Linked DNA regions of Homo sapiens: all the other regions are linked to region 2. The links are contacts of gene promoters, found by promoter capture Hi-C in blood cells and fetal thymus (Javierre and others, 2016). All regions are on one chromosome and are shown on one strand. The core of a region is centred on a gene start or on the middle of the fragment in contact, and the rest is flanking DNA. Distances in the headings are between cores, read along the strand shown.

Region 1 (3,617 bases), core at 51-2,550, 2.9 Mb before region 2:
GGCACAGATAAAGCATTTGGGAAATTAAATACCCCTTCATGATAAAACCAACAACAAATTAAAACTAGAAGGAAAGGCCCTAAACCTAATAAAAGACACCAATGAAAAACCCACAGTGAATATCACACTTAATGGTGAAAGATTGAATAGTTTCTCCCATGCCGCCTGCCAAGATCAGTAACAACAGAAGGATGTCTGTTTTCATCTCATCTTTTCAACATTCTAGTAGAGGTTATAGCCAAGGTAATTAGGTAAGAAAAAGAAAATAAAAGGCATCTGGATTGGAAAGGAAGAGATGAAATTATTTCTATTTGCAGATAACATAATCTTGTATATAGAAAATCCCAAGGAATGCACTAAAAAACACCATTGGACCTAATAAATGAGTCCAGCAATGTTGCAGAATATAAGATCAATATATAAAAATCAATTACATTTCTATAAAGTAGCCATGAGCAAACAAAATGAAATTAAGTAAAACAATTTTATTTACAATAGCATCAAAACAATAAAATGCTTAAAAGAACACTTTAAAAAATGTAAAACACTCTGAAAACTGCAAAACATTGGTGAATATAATTAAAGACCTAAGTAAATGCAACAACATCTCATGTTCAGGGACCTAAAACTTATTATTGTTAAGATGGTAATATTCCCTAACTAATCTATAGATTAAATGCAGCTTCTGTCAAAGTTTCAGCTTAATTCTTTGCAGAAATTAATAAATTGGTCTTAAAATTTATATGGAAATGCAAAGGACCTAGAATAGCCAAAACAATCATAAAAACAATCTGAAAAAGACCAAAATTAGAAGACATACTTCCCAATTTCAAAATTACAATTAAACTACAATAATCAAGAATGTGTGGTACTGGTATAAGGGTAGAGATACATATAAACAAATGGAATAGAACTGAGAGCCCAGAAGTAAACCCTTCAACTTATAGTCACCTGATTTTCATCAAGGGTGCCAAGACAATTAAGTAGGGGAAAGAAGAGTCTTTTCAAAAAATGCTGCTAGGACAACTGGATAGCCACATGCAAAAGAACGAAGCTGGATTCCCATCTCACACCACATGCAAATATTAACTCAGAATAAATTGAAAAACCTAAATGTAAGAGCCAAGACTATAAAACTCTTAGAAAAAAGCCTAGGCATATATCTTTGTGACTTTGCATGCTACAACATGGATTAACCTTGAAAACATGCCCAAAGAAACGAGCCAGATACAAAAGGCCACATATTGTATGATTCCCCTTATATAAAATGTCCAGAATAGGCAAATTCATTGAGACTGAAAGTAGATTAGTGGTTGCCAGGGGCTAAGGGGAGAGGGTCATCTGGAGTGAGTCTAGAGTATGGAATTCCTTTTTGGCATAAAGAAAATGTCCTGGAATTAGTGGTGATGGTTACACAACTATGTGAATATACTCAAAACCACTGTATACTTCAAAATGGTGAATTTTATGGTATGTGAATTATATCTCTATCAAAAACAATTTTTTAAATGTAGGAAAACACATACCAGGCAAATATTAAGCTAAATAAAGCTAATGTAGGTATATTAATATGAGAAAAAAGATTGATTATAGGGCAAAAACATCAATGATACCAAATTACCAGGTATTACCAGAGTTAATAATTTCCTTACATGGTGATAAAATATTCAATTCACAAGGAAGATATAGCAATTCTAAATTTGTTTGTAACTACGAACTTTCAAGATTGACAGAATTACAAGGAAACATTAACAAATTTTCCATATCAACAGGCAGCCAAAACCCCAGAAGAATATAGAACATTTGAGCCAGATTAACAAACACAACTTAATCGAGGTATATAGTACACTAAACACAACTGTAAAACGCACATTCTTTTCAAGTGCTCTTGGAACATTTACCAGATTGTCCATAAGTTGGTCCATAAAGCAAGTCTCAACAGATTTCAAAGAACTGAAATAATACAAAGTTTGTTCTCTGACCAGAATGGAATTAAAATAGAAATGACAAGAGCACTGATCTATCAAAACAGAAGCTGGTCCAAGGGCTGGCACCAAGTACTGGAGGCCTCCTGCTGTGGTAGGCATTAATCCTTTAGTTGCTAGATGATAATCAGTAGGTCCTGGCTATCCTGGGAAAGGAATTGAGGTGGCCAGGGTAACTGGGTAAGTGTTGGAGAGACTAAAAAAGCCTGGGAGAGTGCCTATTTATAAAATGGACTAGAAATATTCTGAAAATTCATATGGCCATACGATTGTGAATCTGTGGAATATCAGCCCTGTTTAGTAGGCCAATTATCTCATTGGACACTTAAATTAGAAAAGAAGAAAGTCTGAAAATGAATGAGCTGAGCAGCAGGCAACTCTATGAGTTAAAAAAGAACAACAGAATAAATCCAAAGAAAGTAGGAGAAACAGAATAATGATGAAAAAATAGTTAAATAGAAAATAAAGATAAAAAAGGATCAAAAAGTCAAAAGTTGATTATTTTAGAATTATAAAAGTGTCAAACTTATAGCAAGATTGATCAAGAGAAAAAAGGTGCAAATAAATAATATTATAATGAAAGAGAAGCTATAACTACAAATGCAACAGAGATAAAAAAGATACAAAGATAAGAACTTTACACAAAATAAATTTGAAAACTATGTGAAGTAGAAAAATTCATAGAAAACCATAACTTAGGAAAGCTTAAGAAAGCTAACTTTAGTGGAAATAGCAAACTGAAAGGACTCTATAACTGATAAAAGAGATTGTATCAGTTAAAATGTTAAAGGAGACACCAGGTCCAGATATTTTACCTGGAAATGCTGCCAGGTAAAATATTTGAGGAATGGCTAGTTCTGCAGACAACCTCTGTCAGAGGACAGAATGAAAGGAAATAGTTCCCACCTGATTTTATGAGGTTAGTGTAATCTTGACACTCTTGGAAAAATCACAGGCCAATCTCTTTCCTGAGCAAAATGCTAAAATCCTAAACAAAAAATTAGTGAAAGAAATTCAGAAGTTTTTATTTATCCCAGGACTGCAAGATTATTTCAACACAAGAAAAACTCTAATGTATTGTACCACATTAATGGGTTAAAATAGAAAATTAATGTCATTTCAGTGAATACAGAAAACATGTTTAATAAAATTCAATATTCATTCATCTTTTAAAAATTGTATTGGCAAACTCAGAATAAACAGGAACGTCTTTAACCTATTAAATGATATCTACCAAAAAAACTACAGCAAATTTGCTCAATGGTGAAACTTAAAATCGGGATCAGCATAAGAATATACATTATTAACATTTCTTTTCAACGTGTACTGCACATCTCGTGTGTGTATATTAAAGGCGGGAGGTCTTAGCAGTGTAATAATATAAGAAAGATAAAAATGAGGGTTGTGGGGAAAATGAAAGCTGTCATTTACATACAAATTATCAAAACTCATAAGAAAGTTTAGCAGGTTTGCTAGTTACAAATTCATTACATGAAAAACAAATACAGTTGTATACATTAGCAACATACTGCTATAAAATTTAATTTTCTAAAAAGGTACTGTTTAAGATAGCAACAAAAAATAAGCCAAAAAAATCTTACAATGGCATGCAAACCTTTTATAGATTAAATT
Region 2 (3,308 bases), core at 597-3,096:
TATCTCTGCATCACTGAGATCATTCTGTCTCTGGCTGGTAAGTTCACTGCTGGGTGTAAGAGAATTTGCTGCTTCTAGCTGAGCTAAGAGATCCTGGCCCACCTTATGCCTTTTAACCATGTGCGTCTTCATGCTGTGCTTGGATGTGAAGAGTTTATTACAAGAGGAGATCGGGCAACGGCTTTTCCAAGTGTCCACATCCTGCAGGTGTTTCTTGGAGTGAATGTAGAGGCTACTGCGAGCAGAGAACCTGGCACAGCAGCCTGCCACAGGACACACGAAAGGCTTTGTGCCCAGGTGGGTAATGCTGTGGCCTTTCAGATGTTCGGCCCTCGTGAAAGATTTCCCACAGCCTTCCACAGGGCACATGAACCTCCGGTCATCGTCGTGCTTCCTTTTGTGCCTTAAGAGTTTGGACATGCTGGTGAAGTTCCAGCCACAGCCATCAAAGTCACAAAGGAAAGGTCTCTCGCCGGTGTGACTCCGCAGGTGAATTTTCAGCCTACAAGCCTTGTCATATTGCTTGCTGCAGCCAGGGAAAGAGCAGGAAAACAGTTCCTGTTCCCTGAAATGGGCGCGGTTATGGGAAAACAGAGCACTCACTGTGATAAATGTCTTCTTGCAGCCAGAAAACGCGCACTGGTAAGGCCTCTCGGGTTCGAAGTGGCTGCGCTGGTGGGCGCCGAGTTTGGCCTGCGTGGGGAAGCTCTCCTCGCACACCTCACATTTGAACGAGTTCTCCTGCTCATGGCCCTTCATGTGCGCCTTGAGGTTGTACACGGTGGTGAAGCTCTTGCCACAGCCCTCCGCAGGGCAGCCGAAGGGCCGCAGTTTATCGTGCGACTGCAGGTGCCTCTTGAGCTTGTAAGAGGTGGTGAAGGTCCAGCCGCAGCCACCCAGGGGGCATTTGAAGGGCCTCTGGCCCTGGCTGCTGCTGTGCGTCAGCAGGTGCATCTTCAGCTGGTGCTTCTTGGCGAAGGTTTGCCCGCACAGCGCCTCGGGGCACAGGTACAGCACCACGCCTGGACCAGAGCCCAGCAGTCCGCGGGGGCCCAGGGCGGCGGCCAGGCCCTCCGCCTCCTCCTGGGGCGCCGGAGCAGGCGCGGGTTCTGCGGGCTCGGCTAGCAGGAGGTCGGACCGCAGCTCTGGGCAGTCACCCGGGTGCGCGGCTTGCGGGAACCCAGCTTGGGGGGCGATCAGACACCTGGGCTGCTGGGCAGGAGCGGCCCCTGGCTCCCAGGCGTGTGGTGGGGGCGTGGCCAGGGTGAGGACGCCGTTCTCAAAGCGCAACAGCAGGTCCTGGTTGTGGATAGTGACTGTGCCCGCGAAGGCCGCGGCGGGGCCGGGGGCGGAGATCGGGGCCGGAGTGGGAACCGCGGACAGGCAGTGGGGGCCCTGCGCAGAGCAGCCCGCGGGGTTCGCGCCGCTCTCGTCCCCCTGGAGCCCCGGGCCCGCCTTGGCCTCCTCCCTCAACACAGGCCCTGCGGCCTGACCGGAGCCCGCGGTCTCCACGTCGCCACCCACCGGGTCAAGCAGCACCAGGAAGAAGTCGTCGCCGCCGCCGCTAGGTTGATGGGGCCTCGGCGCGAACAGGCTTGGGCCAGGGCCCCGTGATGCCGTGCTGGCCTCCTCGCGCCGCCGCCCGGGCCCGCCATCTTGGGGGCCCCGGGGCAGCAGGAGGCGGCGCGTGGGGACCTGGCCAGCCGGCGAGTCAGGGCCTCGGTGGACTCGGCCGCCACCCGCGGGGATACCGCCGCCGCCGCCGCCCTGTAGTGTCCCGCGAGCCGGGAGCAGCTTCGGGATTTCCATCTCTGCGTCCGAGAGGCTCGGCTGGAACCAGAGCCGAGGAGGAGGCGCGATCCCGCCCCCTGCCGCGGGCCTGAACACGTTCCTGAAAGGGGAAAAAAAAATGTGCAATGCGCAGAAACTGGCCCTATCAGATATTAAAATGTATTCAACGCCACAGTGATTTAAATATTCTGGTACTGGGTCTCTGGAACGGAATAGAAAGCCCAGAGGTAGAGCCTGGTATGCATAAATATATTCTACAATTAATATAAGTAATTAAGGAGGTCTTCTGAAGTAATGGGGAAATGACGACATCTTGTTCAATAATGCTGTGGAACACCTAGGTATCTATCTGGTAAAAGCAATTTTAATCCGTGACTCATTGTATATACCCAAATAAACACACGCCAGCCCCTCCCAGTGTTAGACATGTTGCTTCATACTTTTTGTGTGTTAAAATTTGTTTATTGGCTGGCTACCTGGCTGGATTGATGGATGAAAGACAATTCCTGAGAGAAAAAACTGTCTCTGTGTCAGCATTAAACCACCATAGTGCTGGCATTTCTGCGGAAATTGCCCTTCCCCTTCCCACCTCTGCGCGGGACAACTTCCATACTCACAATTGTCTTGAGCAAAGTGCTCGGTACAATTTGCCACATAGTTCAATTTTTGTCTGCTGATAACAGAGATTAGAATGAGTGAGAGATGCGGCCAAAACAGATTAGCACTCTTCAGCCTACAAATGCAAAGTCTGGAGGATGAAACAATTTATACTGAAATCTGGAAAAAAACCCAACCCGCCCCTGGCTTCTCCCTATACAGTGCACAACCTAAACCAACTCTTTGCCCTTCGACGATCGGTTGTACCATGATAAACTTCATGTCCACTCTCATAGCACAATGAGGGCATTGCTCAGTTTATTCTGCATTCTCCAGCACATTCTCTGGGCAGGAGTTCCAGTTAAATGTGTTAAGGTTAAACCCTCAGTCACTCAATGGACTCTGCCAAGTAATGTGCACAGACGATCTTGTCCACTCGCCCCGGTGTACCTGCTCACATTTAAGTGTGGTGGCCCAGTCTTGCTGGGCCTTTGGTGCCTAATGTCCTTATTAATGATGACGACAATCCTCCAATTTGTCTGTCACGAATGAGTTTGGAATTGACACAAATATAGGGTGAAATATCTGAGATGAGAAGGCTTAGAGTGATGAACAGATTGGTGGTGGTGGGGGTGGGGGGGTGTAACCTGTTGTTTAAATACTCCCAGCTCTCTCGCCCTCTTTTAATAACAGTGGACACTTGGTCTCTTGAAAATCAAGTTTTTCAACCATAACTATTCGAACCTCATCAAAATTTCTACTCCACATACTTTTCTTTCTATTACTTTTTCTGGAGGAAGCACTTTTCAAATCTGAAATTAGAAGAGTGCATATAACGTATCTGTATAGTTTAGATTATTTTACAAAAGCAGACACCTACTTAACCAGGACCAAGGTCAAGCAATAGACCACTGCCAACC
Region 3 (3,544 bases), core at 433-2,932, 2.2 Mb before region 2:
AACCTCTAGGGGTGAATATAACATTTGGGTGGGAAGGCAGGAGTGCCTATCCTCACCTAGGTCCATGGGCACAGGCCCCAGGGTGGAGCCCTAGCCACGGACCCGCCTTTCTCTGCCCAGCACTTTCCTGCCCCGCTCCTGTATCATAAGCTGGTGCATCTGAATGCAGGGTCTGCAAAACATATCAAACAGTGATCTTAGGTTTTAAAACAGTGATGTTATTCCTGGGAGCAATTTGGGGAGGTTCAGACTCTTGCAGCTGGAGGCTGCATGGCCCCTGAATTGTAATTTCTAATCTTGTAATCTTGTGGCTAATTTGTTAGTCCTGCAAAGGCCGACTGGTTCCCAGGTAAGAAGGTTTTTTTGTTTTTTTGTTTTTTTTTAGTGGGGGGCAGCGGGAGGGAGAAAGGGCTATTATCAATTTTGTATCAGAGTTAAACTATAAACTAAATTCCTTCCCAAGGTTAGTTCGGCCTACGCCCAGGAATGAACAAGGACACCTTAAAGGTTAGATGTAAGATGGAGTCGGTGAGGTCTGATCTCTTTCACTGTCATAATTTCCTCAGTTACAGTTTTTGCAAAGGCAGTTTCAATAATAGTACTCTGTTTCCTGCAGTTTCTCTTCCTTCCTTCCCTTTTTTTCTTATCAAAGTAATATATGTACACACTTACGTGTAAATAATACATGTAGTATATCATATATTAATTATAAATAATATAATTAAACTACACATTTATTTAAAATAACATATTTATAACATATTATTTAAGTATTAGTTGATTATATTAAATATAATTAAATGTCATATTAATCTTATTATTATATATCATTTATACATTATAGAAATATATATAGCACAGAAGGGCTTCAGATAAAAAATAATAGTCCCCTGACATATCACGTCCTATCCCCTACCCCATTCTCCAGAAGGAACATCTTTGAACCCCTCTGGGCATTTTTCCTGGTGTGCATATCCCTACCAGTAGTCTTTCTGTTCTCAATTCTAGACTTCACTTATTTACAGATGGGGTCTCGCTATGTTGGCCAGGTTGGTCTTGAACTCCTGGCCTCAAGTGATCCTCCCTCCCCAGCCTCCCAAAGTGCTGGGATTAAAGGCATGACCCACCACTCCCAGCCCTAGACTTTATTTATTGACTTCTTACTATGGTACTTCCTTCACTTCCTGTTTTAAACAAGTGGGAAGATGAATGTGTGTGTTAAAATTCCTGATGAATCCCTGGTTTCAGCAATAACGATAATTTATACAGTATTTGCTATGTGGAAGACACAGTTCTAAGCGCTTTGGATGTATTAATCATTTAATTACAAACTCGATTGCAAGAATTAACAATAAAAAGCAGGAAGGCAAAGACAATGCTCGGTCTTCCCAGTCAAAAACCATTACCGGTAACCAGCAGTAAAAAAGAGAAGCTCAGAGGCACTGAAATTGCAACCGGCTCCTTTAATTCTCCATAGCGGATGGGTGGGGCCAGGCCCACCCACATTAGAGAGGCTGAAGGCTCCCAGCGCCCTACCCCGCCCGAGGGGCGGAGCCTGAGCCAAGGCCACGTGATGATGACAGACGGCACTCTGGCTTTCCTGGAGCTGTCTCTATGGTATTCTTCCCAGCCCACCCGTCCCTTTGGTAGCGGCAGTCACGTGACAGACTCCGGGGTAAGGCAGATGCCCACGTGATCCTGGCCTGCAGTTGGGTGGCTGCGGTGAGATACCTGGGTTCCTGAAGGGCGGGTGGTTAGGTCGTAACTACTGCCCCCGCCGGCTGACTCTCCGAGCGGCCGGGCTCGGAAGCCACGAGCCAGCTGAGGCGTTCTCCGCTTAGTGCCTACGGCATGGGTCAGCTCTTTCTGCCACCTCCGCCTTCGCGGTCCTCACCTCTTTGCGGGTGAAGTTACCTTTGGGTTTCCAGACCTTGGGGGCCTGAGGCCCAAACTCGGGACGAACCCCTAACCCACCTCTCTTTTCCTGTCATTCTCCAACTCTTACTTTGTACCACGGAATCACTTGGCCTTAAAGCTAGCCAGCTCGGCCGTGCCTTGAGGCCAGGTTCGAGAGATAAAGGTAACCGTGGGGAAAGCGGCCCCCCAGTGGACAAAGGCGGAGGCAAGAATAGAGCAGGCCTGAGGGCCATAGGCGATGAGAATAGGCAGTTGAGGGGTGAAAAAGAAAACAAACAAACAACAACAACAAACCCTGAAGAGTACTGAAGATTTAGAAGGGACTGGAAAGGACTTGTTGCGCAATGGAAGAATCTGACTCTGAGAAAACGACGGAGAAAGAAAATCTGGGGCCGAGAATGGATCCACCACTAGGGGAACCGGAAGGATCGCTTGGGTGGGTGAAGGGTATTTGTGAAACCTGGAAGTGGGGGTGTTCAAATTGAAGAGAGTATTGTGAATTAGAACACTTCTCCCCACCCCGCACCATGATAAATTGCTTTGATTTACCAGTAATGTTGATTGGGATTATGCTTTGGACGACAGGATAAACTGGAAAGCGAATTGGTGCTAACTGATCAGAAACAACCCTTGGGAAGGGGCTGATATTCCTGGTGGTGGTGCTGGGGGAGTGTTCTAATTAAAGCAGTTATGAGTTGCTTTGAATTATCAGTAAAGGAGATTTGCTGTCACCAGGTTGGGGATGGAAAGACTAGAAAGAAGATTTGCATTTCCAGGTCAGAGCTTGAGGGTGTTTTCTGTGCCAATTTGTACCTGAATTTGAGACTTACATCTACTTTGTGTCTGTGATGAGTGAAATAGGGCTTGGAAGGACAGCTGAAGGACTAAAAAGATACTTCCAGATTTTAAAATTAGGAGGCTGAATGTTTTTTATACATAGAAGATATTCAATACTCAGTCCTCAAGTAGAGGATATCAATATATTCTGTTTTTTTAGAAATAGAAGATATTGTTTGATTAAAGCAGCTGTGTTGCTTTGATTAAGATGATGAAAAATTGAATCTTGAATTTTAATGGCTCATTTGTATTCCTAAATAAATCTTCCTAGGAGTTCTCTCTTGAACTTCTAATTAGGAGATAGAGAGTATACACACAGTTTTATAATTTAGGAAAATGGGACCTCTATTCATCTGAGGTCCCACACACACAGCTGTACTCAGCCGTTGTACTAAACATGCTCTTTTGTACCTCCATGTTTATTTATACTTCATTAATTTCAATTTCTAAGGGAATTGGATCATGGAAACTGTTTTTTGGTTTATATCTGCAGGTGGGTGCTACCAAATACAGCCATGAAGAAAAAGGTAAGACGTGTTAGATACGTCAAAACCATGAAGGTAAAGGTAAGAAGTTGATATTCAGGAACTTTGTGACATATATACACCATCTTTTCTGGACTATTGCAGGAGCCTTCTGTGTGGTCTGTCTGACTCTCTTCTCCTTGTATGCTATCAGATTTAATTTTTCTAATATGAAAATCCGACTGAGTCATCTACATACTTAAGAACCTTTAGTAACTTCTTTAAGCCCATGGAATAAAATCCAAATGATTTCATGGCCCTTTAAA

The links. Contacts are between HindIII fragments. The CHiCAGO score rates a contact against its expected background, and 5 or more counts as called.
Region 1: a contact is called between a fragment that was not itself captured here and the fragment with the promoter of ZXDA in region 2, in 1 of 17 cell types (M2 macrophages). The highest score is 5.2, in M2 macrophages.
Region 3: the fragment with the promoter of RRAGB here is called in contact with the fragment with the promoter of ZXDA in region 2 in 1 of 17 cell types (activated CD4 T cells); the score reaches 6.1 in activated CD4 T cells.

Annotation. Positions count from the first base shown.
Region 1 is chrX:54,987,748-54,991,364 of GRCh38, forward strand. All of the region lies in intron 1 of PFKFB1 (6-phosphofructo-2-kinase/fructose-2,6-biphosphatase 1), which reads right to left. Among named protein-coding and RNA genes, the nearest start is that of PFKFB1, 4.6 kb to the right of the region's middle. The HindIII fragment of the contact is 2,774 bases long and covers 1-2,687 here.
Region 2 is chrX:57,908,612-57,911,919 of GRCh38, forward strand. ZXDA (zinc finger X-linked duplicated A) reads right to left here and starts at 1,847. Exons shown (of 1, transcript NM_007156.5): 1 at 1-1,847. The coding sequence starts at 1,809. RefSeq lists a silencer at 1,015-1,274. The HindIII fragment of the contact is 7,022 bases long and covers 1-3,308 here.
Region 3 is chrX:55,716,067-55,719,610 of GRCh38, forward strand. RRAGB (Ras related GTP binding B) reads left to right here and starts at 1,683. Exons shown (of 10, transcript NM_006064.5): 1 at 1,683-2,353; 2 at 3,248-3,281. The coding sequence starts at 2,262. RefSeq lists enhancers at 1,812-2,011, 2,172-2,301. The HindIII fragment of the contact is 6,209 bases long and covers 1-3,544 here.